Linked DNA regions of Homo sapiens: all the other regions are linked to region 3. The links are contacts of gene promoters, found by promoter capture Hi-C in blood cells and fetal thymus (Javierre and others, 2016). All regions are on one chromosome and are shown on one strand. The core of a region is centred on a gene start or on the middle of the fragment in contact, and the rest is flanking DNA. Distances in the headings are between cores, read along the strand shown.

Evidence for each region. Contacts are between HindIII fragments. The CHiCAGO score rates a contact against its expected background, and 5 or more counts as called.
Region 1: a fragment that was not itself captured here is called in contact with the fragment with the promoter of RSRC2 in region 3 in 1 of 17 cell types (endothelial precursors); the score reaches 8.0 in endothelial precursors.
Region 2: the fragment with the promoter of HCAR3 here is called in contact with the fragment with the promoter of RSRC2 in region 3 in 1 of 17 cell types (endothelial precursors); the score reaches 6.3 in endothelial precursors.

What each region holds. Positions count from the first base shown.
Region 1 is chr12:122,757,886-122,760,593 of GRCh38, forward strand. The region is part of intron 2 of DENR (density regulated re-initiation and release factor); the gene reads left to right. Among named protein-coding and RNA genes, the nearest start is that of DENR, 6.4 kb to the left of the region's middle. The HindIII fragment of the contact is 3,240 bases long and covers 1-2,708 here.
Region 2 is chr12:122,715,447-122,718,146 of GRCh38, forward strand. HCAR3 (hydroxycarboxylic acid receptor 3) reads right to left here and starts at 1,365. Exons shown (of 1, transcript NM_006018.3): 1 at 1-1,365. The coding sequence starts at 1,291. The coding sequence ends at 128. The HindIII fragment of the contact is 15,173 bases long and covers 1-2,700 here.
Region 3 is chr12:122,525,575-122,528,527 of GRCh38, forward strand. RSRC2 (arginine and serine rich coiled-coil 2) reads right to left here and starts at 1,362. Exons shown (of 10, transcript NM_023012.6): 1 at 1,274-1,362. The coding sequence starts at 1,279. It overlaps KNTC1 (kinetochore associated 1), which reads left to right and starts at 1,675. Exons shown (of 64, transcript NM_014708.6): 1 at 1,675-1,777. RefSeq lists an enhancer at 1,042-1,501. The HindIII fragment of the contact is 2,543 bases long and covers 1,347-2,953 here.

The sequences.
Region 1 (2,708 bases), core at 41-2,540, 230 kb after region 3:
ATTTTAATCTTTTCCACCCTCCTCCCCAAATTTAGAAGACTTTAAAGTATGAGATGATTGAGGCTTAGTGACACTGTGTGCAAAGTTAGTGATTTTGGTGACTGTTGACAGCGAAATTTGTAATTGAAAATATTGACTTTCAGGAAGCTGATTGTGGCTGTTCATTCTCTGTTATAGAAAGGCAGTTTTTGTTTGTTTGTTTTTCAGAAGGAGTCTCACTCTGTTGCCCAGACTGGAGTGTAATGGCGTGATCTCGGCTCACTGCAACCTCCGCCTCCAGGGTTCAAGTGATTCTCCTGGTTCAGCCTCCCGAGTAGCGGAGATTACAGGCGCCTGCCACCGTGCCTGGCTGATTTTTGTATTTTTAGTAGAGATGAGGTTTCACCATCTTGGCCAGGCTGGTCTTGAACTCCTGACCTTGTGATCCACCCGCCTCGGCCTCCCAAAGTGTTGGGATTACAGGCGTGAGCCACCAGACCCGGCCATTCTGATGTGTTCTTAAGACTAGATTTAGTTTATGATCTTGTGCCAAGACCACCACAGAAGTGCTGTTAATTTCAGTGCATTTTATCAAGAGGTACCTGGCTGTGGATTAGTCCCATTCCATGTTTCCATGTGGTGGTAACTTTGCTCATTTGGCCAGGCACAGTGGCTCACACCTTTAATTCCAACACTTTGGGAGGCCGAGGCAGGCAGATCATCTGAGCTCAGGAGTTTGAGACCAGCCTGGGCAACATAGTGAGACCCTGCCTCTACAAAAAATTAAATAAATTAGCCAGGTGTGGTGGCAAGTGCCTGTAGTTCCAGCTACTCGGAGGCTGTAGTGGAAGGAACACTTAAGCCCAGGAGTTCAAGGCTGCATGAGTTAAGATCACATCACTGCACTATAGCCTGGGTGACAAAGTGAGACTGTCTCTTTAACAAAAAAAAAGAAGCTGGAGTCTAGAGGCTTAATTTTTTATTTATTTATTTTTTTTTTGAGTTGGAGTCTTGCCCTGTTGCCCAGGCTGGAGTGCAGTGGCAGTCTCAGCTCACTGCAGCCTCTGCGTCCCAGGATCAAGCGATTCTCCTGCCTCAGCCTTCTGAGTAGCTGGGACTACAGGTGTGCGCCACCACACCCGGCTAATTTTTGTATTTTTAGTAGAGATGGGGTTTCACCATGTTGGCCAGGCTGGTCTTGAACTCCTGACCTCAGGTGATCCACCACCTCGGCCTCCCAAAGTGCTGGGATTGTAGACGTGAGCCACCACACCCGGCCTAGAGGCTTAATTAGATTCAAGTTAAACAGATTTTGGCAAGAAAGTTTCGTGGATGATGTTTCATTCATCATGTTGCATTGCATCAAGAGCTCATAATGTCAGATGTTTCACTATTAGTGATGCTAAGTTTGAAGGTGACGGCTAAATGTTTGCATTGAAAAGGTACAGTTTTCCCTTTCCAAATAAGTAAGTGATCTGTAAAGAGAAATTGACTTTTTTAAAGCAAATAATGGTGAACTTAAAGGAGCTCCCCCAATTTTTTTATTGCATTAGAATTTTGCTGAACCGGGCCAGGCACAGTGGCTCACACCTGTAATCACAGCACTTTGGGAGGCTGAGGCCAAGGCAGGCAGATCACTTGAGGCCAGGAGTTCAAGACCAGCCTGGCCAACATGGCAAAACCCTGTCTCTACTAAAAATACAAAAATTAGCTGGGTGTGGTGGTGCACACCTGTAATCCCAGCTACTCGGGAGGCTGAGCTACGAGAATCACTTGGACCCAGGAGGTAGAGGTTGCAGCCAGCTGAGATGGTGCCATTGCACTCCAGCCTGGGCAACAGAGCAAAACCCCAATTTTTTTTTTTTTCTGAACTAAATATTATTTGAAATAGTATACAAAATTTGTAGCTTTAGTATTTGCTGTGATGGTGTTTAACCAATAATTGTATAGTTATATCCTGAAAGTGTGGCTGAACAACTATGCCTAGTATTTGAACTTGAATTGTGAGGAATATAGGGCTGTAGCTAACCAGAGAGATCTTTGGTGGAAATAACCCTAAACTATAATAGACTAGACTGGACAAAACCAATGGATTCCAGTTTTCTTCTGCCACATACCACCTTTGTCATTGTATGAGCTGTTTAACTCTTTTAGTGCCCCATCTGTAAAATAGTGATTGTGTGGTAGCATGTTAGAATGTTAGTAGGGTGAGGTGAAGGCAGATCATTTTCAGCTGTCAGGTGCCACTAAGTTGCTTGTTTACTTTGTGTAACCTAAGTTAGTGGTTAATAGCATGAGCGTCAGAAACAGGCAGATTCAAATCCTGTTATCCAGATGCAAGTGGTTATGTACTCTAAGCCTCAGTTTCATCATCTGAATATAGATATGGTACTTATCTTACAAGGTTGTGATAACTAAACATAATAATGTATATAAGGCATAGCAAAACATTTGGCACATACTAGGTGCCCAGTGTGTAGTAATTGCTGTGACTACATGGTATACCACCTTCCTCTCCCTGAGAAATCTCAGGATATTGGACACACTGAACTACTCCATTCTAAACCTTAAACATAAAAACAAAAGGCCGGGCGCGGTGGCTCACTCCTGTAATCCCAGCACTTTGGGAGGCTGAGGCGGGCGGATCACAAGGTCAGGAGATCGAGACCATCCTAGCTAATACTGTGAAACCCCGTCTTTACTAAAAATACAAAAAATTAGCCGGGCGC
Region 2 (2,700 bases), core at 115-2,614, 190 kb after region 3:
CTCTGTTCCTCCAGGATTCCTGCGGTCACACCTTGCAACCAGTCTCCCACTCATCTGCCACAGTTTCCCTAAATCAGATTCTCTGAATCTGGAAGTTCCAGGAAATCTTAGGCCGAGTCCAGTGACATTACTCGATGCAACAGCCCAACTGTTTCTCCAGAGATGCTGGTTCTTGGTGACAATGTCCCTTCTTGGAATGGTTATTTGAGGTTGGGCCCAGATAAGAGGGGCTCCATGGCTCACCGGAGTTGGCGATTAACGCCTCTGGAGCGCCTCTGGTTTTGTTGGGGTCCCCTGTGAGCTCGACGCTCGTGCTGCGGTTATTATCTGGCTCACCTGTTATCTTCCTCTGGAGGCAGCGGTTGATCAAAGTGGAGAAGAAGTTGGGAAAGGATGGGCTGGAGAAGTAGTACACCACGGGGTCCAGCATGCTGTTCATGTAGGTGAAGCTGAGAGTGATAAAGAACGCCAGGTCCACCGAGCGGTACACTTCACAATTCTGCGTGCCCGAAGTGTGCAGGAGCCAGAAGATGTGGATCCGCACAACCACGCTGGGAAGGAAGCAGATGACAAAGACGATGGCCACCACCATGATGAAGGTGATGGCTCTCTTGATCTTGGCATGCCGGTCCATTTGTCTCTGCCGCAGGCTCCAGATAATTCTGGCTGAGCAGAACAGGATGATGCCCAGGGGCAGGAAGAACTCCAGGAGGAACATAGCTTCGTGCCACCGGAAGGTATGGCAGATGCTGAAGCTGATGCACACATTTGCAGTGCCATTCTGGATCAGCAACTTCTTCTTCAGGAGGTGGACTGTTAGGCCAACAGTGATGCCCCACAGAAGGCAAGAGATGATGGCTGCTGTCCAATTGGAGATCTTGTTCAGGGCGTGGTGGGGATGGACCACCCGGAAATACCTGTCTACCGCCACCACCGTGAGGAATATGATGCTGCCCTGGCGGTTCATGGCAAACATGAAGAGCACCAGCCGGCAAGGGATGTCCCCAAACTTCCAGTCTGAACGCCGCACATAGTAGTCCATCACGAACGGCAGGCAGATGATCAGTAGAAAGTCAGCTACTGCCAGGTTGAACAGGAAAATCCGGCTGGATTTCCAGGACTTGAGGTGGAAACAGAAAATCCACAGGGCAAGGCCATTGCCCAGAAGCCCAAAGATAAACTCCAGCCCCAACACCGGCGGCAACACCTTGGCAATGAAGTCATCTCGGAACACACAGCAGTTCTTCTTGTCTATTTCCAGAAAGTGATCCTGCAGATGGTGCCGATTCATGAGTGCAGCTAGTGAGTCCGATGGAGCGCCTCGCCTAGTGAATGCTCCAGCAAAGTGGCGTGTGTCTGTATGGTGAACGTGTGGTTCCGTGCCTGCCTTTATGTCATGTCAGGGTGTTGAAATAGATGACTGAATGGTTATCAGGAAACTACGAAATCTCTAAAAAAAAAAAAAAAAAAGCCAGCAAGGCTCTTATGCAACCTGCTGTTTGCATAAACAAATAATAAAAATCCCCTGGGCATACAGGAACCCACCAAATGTCTTAAATGTAAAGGATAAGTTTAGGCAAGCTGACTGTCATTCGAAAATCAGTGAAACATGAAGGACATCCCTTTGGAAGGCTGGGTGCTTGTATGCCAACTGAGTACTCAACGTTGCAGAATTAATTCACCGTCATCTGCTTGGCTGACATAATTAACAAAACAACAACAATAGCAATAATAATTTTTGGTGCCAAACAGTGAGGTTTTCCAGAAACACTAAGAATTAGCATGAAAAATTAACAGGCATATGACATAAACAGTAGCAGGCATATGATTTCTTTTGGAAATGCTGAGAAGACAGTAGTTGCCTGTTTGATGAGGACAGACTGGTTGAATTTGACCACTTTTCCTATGCTACCTTTCTGTACAAACATGGAGTGCTTTTCCATATCAGAACTCTGCCATTCATCTCCAGTTAGGAAAAAAAAAAAAGCCTGCTGGAGAGTGTAATATTTCATAAGATGTTTGAAAACTTGAGCCCAGTTTCAGTGGCATGTTAAAATAAGTTGGGTTTTTTGTTTGTTTATATTAGATTTTGATATGCTTCTGTGCTCAAGTGATTTAAGTATGTGATTTCTTTTTTTTGCAAACTTTGAATTAATGAGAAAAGGATTCATGAGGCTAGTTGTAAGCTGTAGCAAATCGGGTGTACTTTGTGCTACAAATTTGTTTTTCTGTGTCGCTCTGCATGAAGAGGGGTACCTTAGGATAGAGCATGGGGTTAGTACCCCATAAGCTGTCTGTTCTAGACAGCCCAGGAAACTGGTCAGTAAGAAAGTTGGTTGCAGGTCCCTGAAACAAACAAAAAACTGGATGAGGTCTCTAACTTGTTTTATGTCCTTGGGACCTTAGGATGTGATTTTTTTTTTTTGAGACAGAGTCTCACTCTGTCACCCAGGCTGGAGAACGGTGGAACAATCTCAGCTCACTGCAACCTCCGCCTCCCAGGTTCAAGCAATTCTTCTGCCTCAGCCTCCTGAGTATCTGGGACTACAGGCGTGCGCCACCACGCCCAGCTAATTTTTTGTATTTTTAGTAAAGACGAGGTTTCACTGTGTTGGCCAGGCTGGTCTCGAACTCCTGACCTTGTGATCCACCCGCCTCGGTCTCCCAAAGTGCTGTGATTACAGGCGTGAGCCACTGCGC
Region 3 (2,953 bases), core at 112-2,611:
TAAAACTATCACTATGTTTAAGAGTCATAATTATTATCGAAAATGATGTAATTTTTTAGTCAGTAAAAAGGAATGCAAAATCTTTACATTTTCCTTTTAACGGAATAAAAATGAGGTAAGCACAAAATAATGTGGATCCGTCAGAATTGGGTATCTTATACACACGCAGGCTTATTGTTCAGAATAGATAATTTACGAACTGTAGCTCCTCTGGGGTCAACGAAGAGTTTTTTTTTTTTTTTTTTTTTTTTTTTTTTTTTTTTTTGAGACGGAGTCTCGCTCTGTCACCCAGGCTGGAGTGCAGTGGCGGGATCTCGGTTCACTGCAAGCTCCGCCTCCCGGGTTCACGCCATTCTCCTGCCTCAGCCTCCCAAGTAGCTGGGACTACAGGCGTCCGCCACTACGCCCGGCTAATTTTTTTGTATTTTTAGTAGAGACAGGGTTTCACCGTTTTAGCCGGGATGGTCTCGATCTCCTGACCTCGTGATCCGCCCGCCTCGGCCTCCCAAAGTGCTGGGATTACAGGCGTGAGCCACCGCGCCCGGCCAACGAAGGGTTTAAATTTAAAGGAACAAGGTCAGTGACAAGACTTAACTGTAACGCTTCTCGGACTTCAAATTGATTACATCACGGGCCACTTCGGAAACCGCGCATCAGTCAGAATTGGTAGTTCCACAACCTTTTAAGTTGAATTTTCACTCCCTTTCAGCAATACCTTCCTAGCTCGTTAATACACAATAATAAGGTTTACACGGACGAACACTAATTGAAATTATGCAACTAGAAGCATCTCATTGAGCGTACAAAAAAAAAAATAGCTACAAGTCGCTCTCTTCTCCCACACTACCCTTTACAGACACTGCCTTTTTGACCCAATACTTTTCAGAGACCACTCCTGATCGTCTTTCTCTTCCCCAGCCCCTTTCTCCACCGCAAATTCTCAGGCCCTAAAAAAAACTTAGAATAAATCACTAGCCAGGGTGAATAAGCGAAAATGGAGGAAGTTCAGTGAGGCGAAAGGAACGTAGGGTTGGGGAAGAGAGGAGGAAAGTTCTGGAAAAAAAAAGGCACTCCCTGCGGCTCCCCACCCCCACCAACACCGCCTTACTTCCCCCTCCCTACAGCAGGCAGCCATGATGGCGGGCGCAGAAGAAGGCCGCGGCGCCATTTTGTCTACACACATACACACGAACAAGGTTCTGGGAGCCGTTCACCCACTGTTGGAACGTAGCAGAAAAATATCCCTGGCTTTAAACTCAGATTCGGTACCTACCGCCATAGTTCAGAGTCCCGGCCGCTAGAGCGGCGCCTCCACTTGTCGCTTTCAACAGTACCGGCCGCTCCGAAGCTTCGCCTCAGACTAAATCGCTCGCGCGAGAGACCCGGATGGCACAAAGGCGAGGAGGCCCGGCGCGTCGCACAGCTTGCTGGGAGAAAAAGGGGCGGTAACAAAAGTTTCTATAACAACGCAATTCGAGGCGGTGATTGGGTGTTCTTTCATAGGGGAGTGTAAAGACCGTGAAGAGGGCGGGGCCAAGAATACACCCCCGGAATGCGCAGTCGGGAGAACGGAATGGGCGGAACTCAGGGTGGGGCAACTTCCTATTTCGAGTCTAAAGTAATCTTGGTCTCTTCCGGCCGCCGTAAAGGGGTTGGGTTTAGTGTTCTCCCGCCAATTTAAGCCTGTGGCATGGAACCTAAAGACTAGAGGCGGTTGTGTGAGTCAGGAAGAGGGGCCAGATATCTGAGTGTTCCTCTTTAGTTTCTTCAATTGCAGGTGAGGACGGGGAGCTGCGCTGTGTAGGGAACTGGGGGTGGGTTCAGGACGAAGTAGCTGCAGCCTCTGCTCAGTTCCTGTTGTTTTCCCCTTGACGCTGGCAGGAGAGAGGTTGGAGTCGGTTTTTGCTGGCGGCGATGTCCAGCGGAGAGCGTTTAAGTATGGAGGCCTAACTGACAAGTGTTTCATCTTGCTCATTCTCTCGTATTCGCGAATCTGTTCTGCATTCCGCCGCCAGAGTGATCTCAAAATTATAAAATCAGACCACTCGTTTGCTGAGTTCCCCTTCTACCCCTTGTACTGAGAATAAAATTCAATCTTGAGGTCGAGGTTTTATTGGACTCCACTGCTCTCTCCCTCACTGTCTTCTGCTTTTGCTTTGACCCGGCAGCAGCATCAAACGCTTCCTACCCAGCCTCCGAGTCTTTGCACTCTGTTCCCTCTGCCTACGTCGCGTTCCGCCTAAGTTTTGCGTACTTCTTGTTATTCAGGTCTCAGCTCAGATGTCACCTCCTTCCCTTCCCAAACAAATCCTTCTTCAGCGACGCCTCACCTTATCCATTTAATCACTGTTTCCTTCAAATCATTTAGCACTTTTTGTAATTATTTGTGCAGTTGCTTTTTTGTGGAGGTAGCATAACAAGATACGTATTAACAATTTTATTTTTGTCCGTTTTTCCCGCAAAAACATAAACTTCATAATGGCAAAGACATTTTGTGTTCTGTTCAAGCTATATTCCCAGTTCCTAGAAAGGTGTCTGGCACATAGTAAATAGGTATTCAATAAACATTTGTTGAATAAGTAAATATGGCAGTTACGGGCGGTTTCTCTATTTCACAGATGTGGGAAATTGAGACCCATAAAGGTATTCATTCCAACCTGTCCCTCCTTCTTCATCTCCTCACTCCCACCCAAACACCAGCCACTGAAACTTCTCTATTCTCCAAACATGTTTTGTTTCTGTTCCCTTGCTTATGCTCTTAGGAAGAACTCTTTAAACATTTATAAAACTATGATCTTCAATTCTCAGCCCAATAACAAATTAGCTAACACCTAAAATTGAATGTTTGCCATCAACCAAGCATTGTTCTGTGAACATTTAAAACTCAAAACATTTGGAGGCTGAAGCAGAAGGATTGCTTGAGCCCAGGAGATCAAGGCCAGCCAGGGCAAAA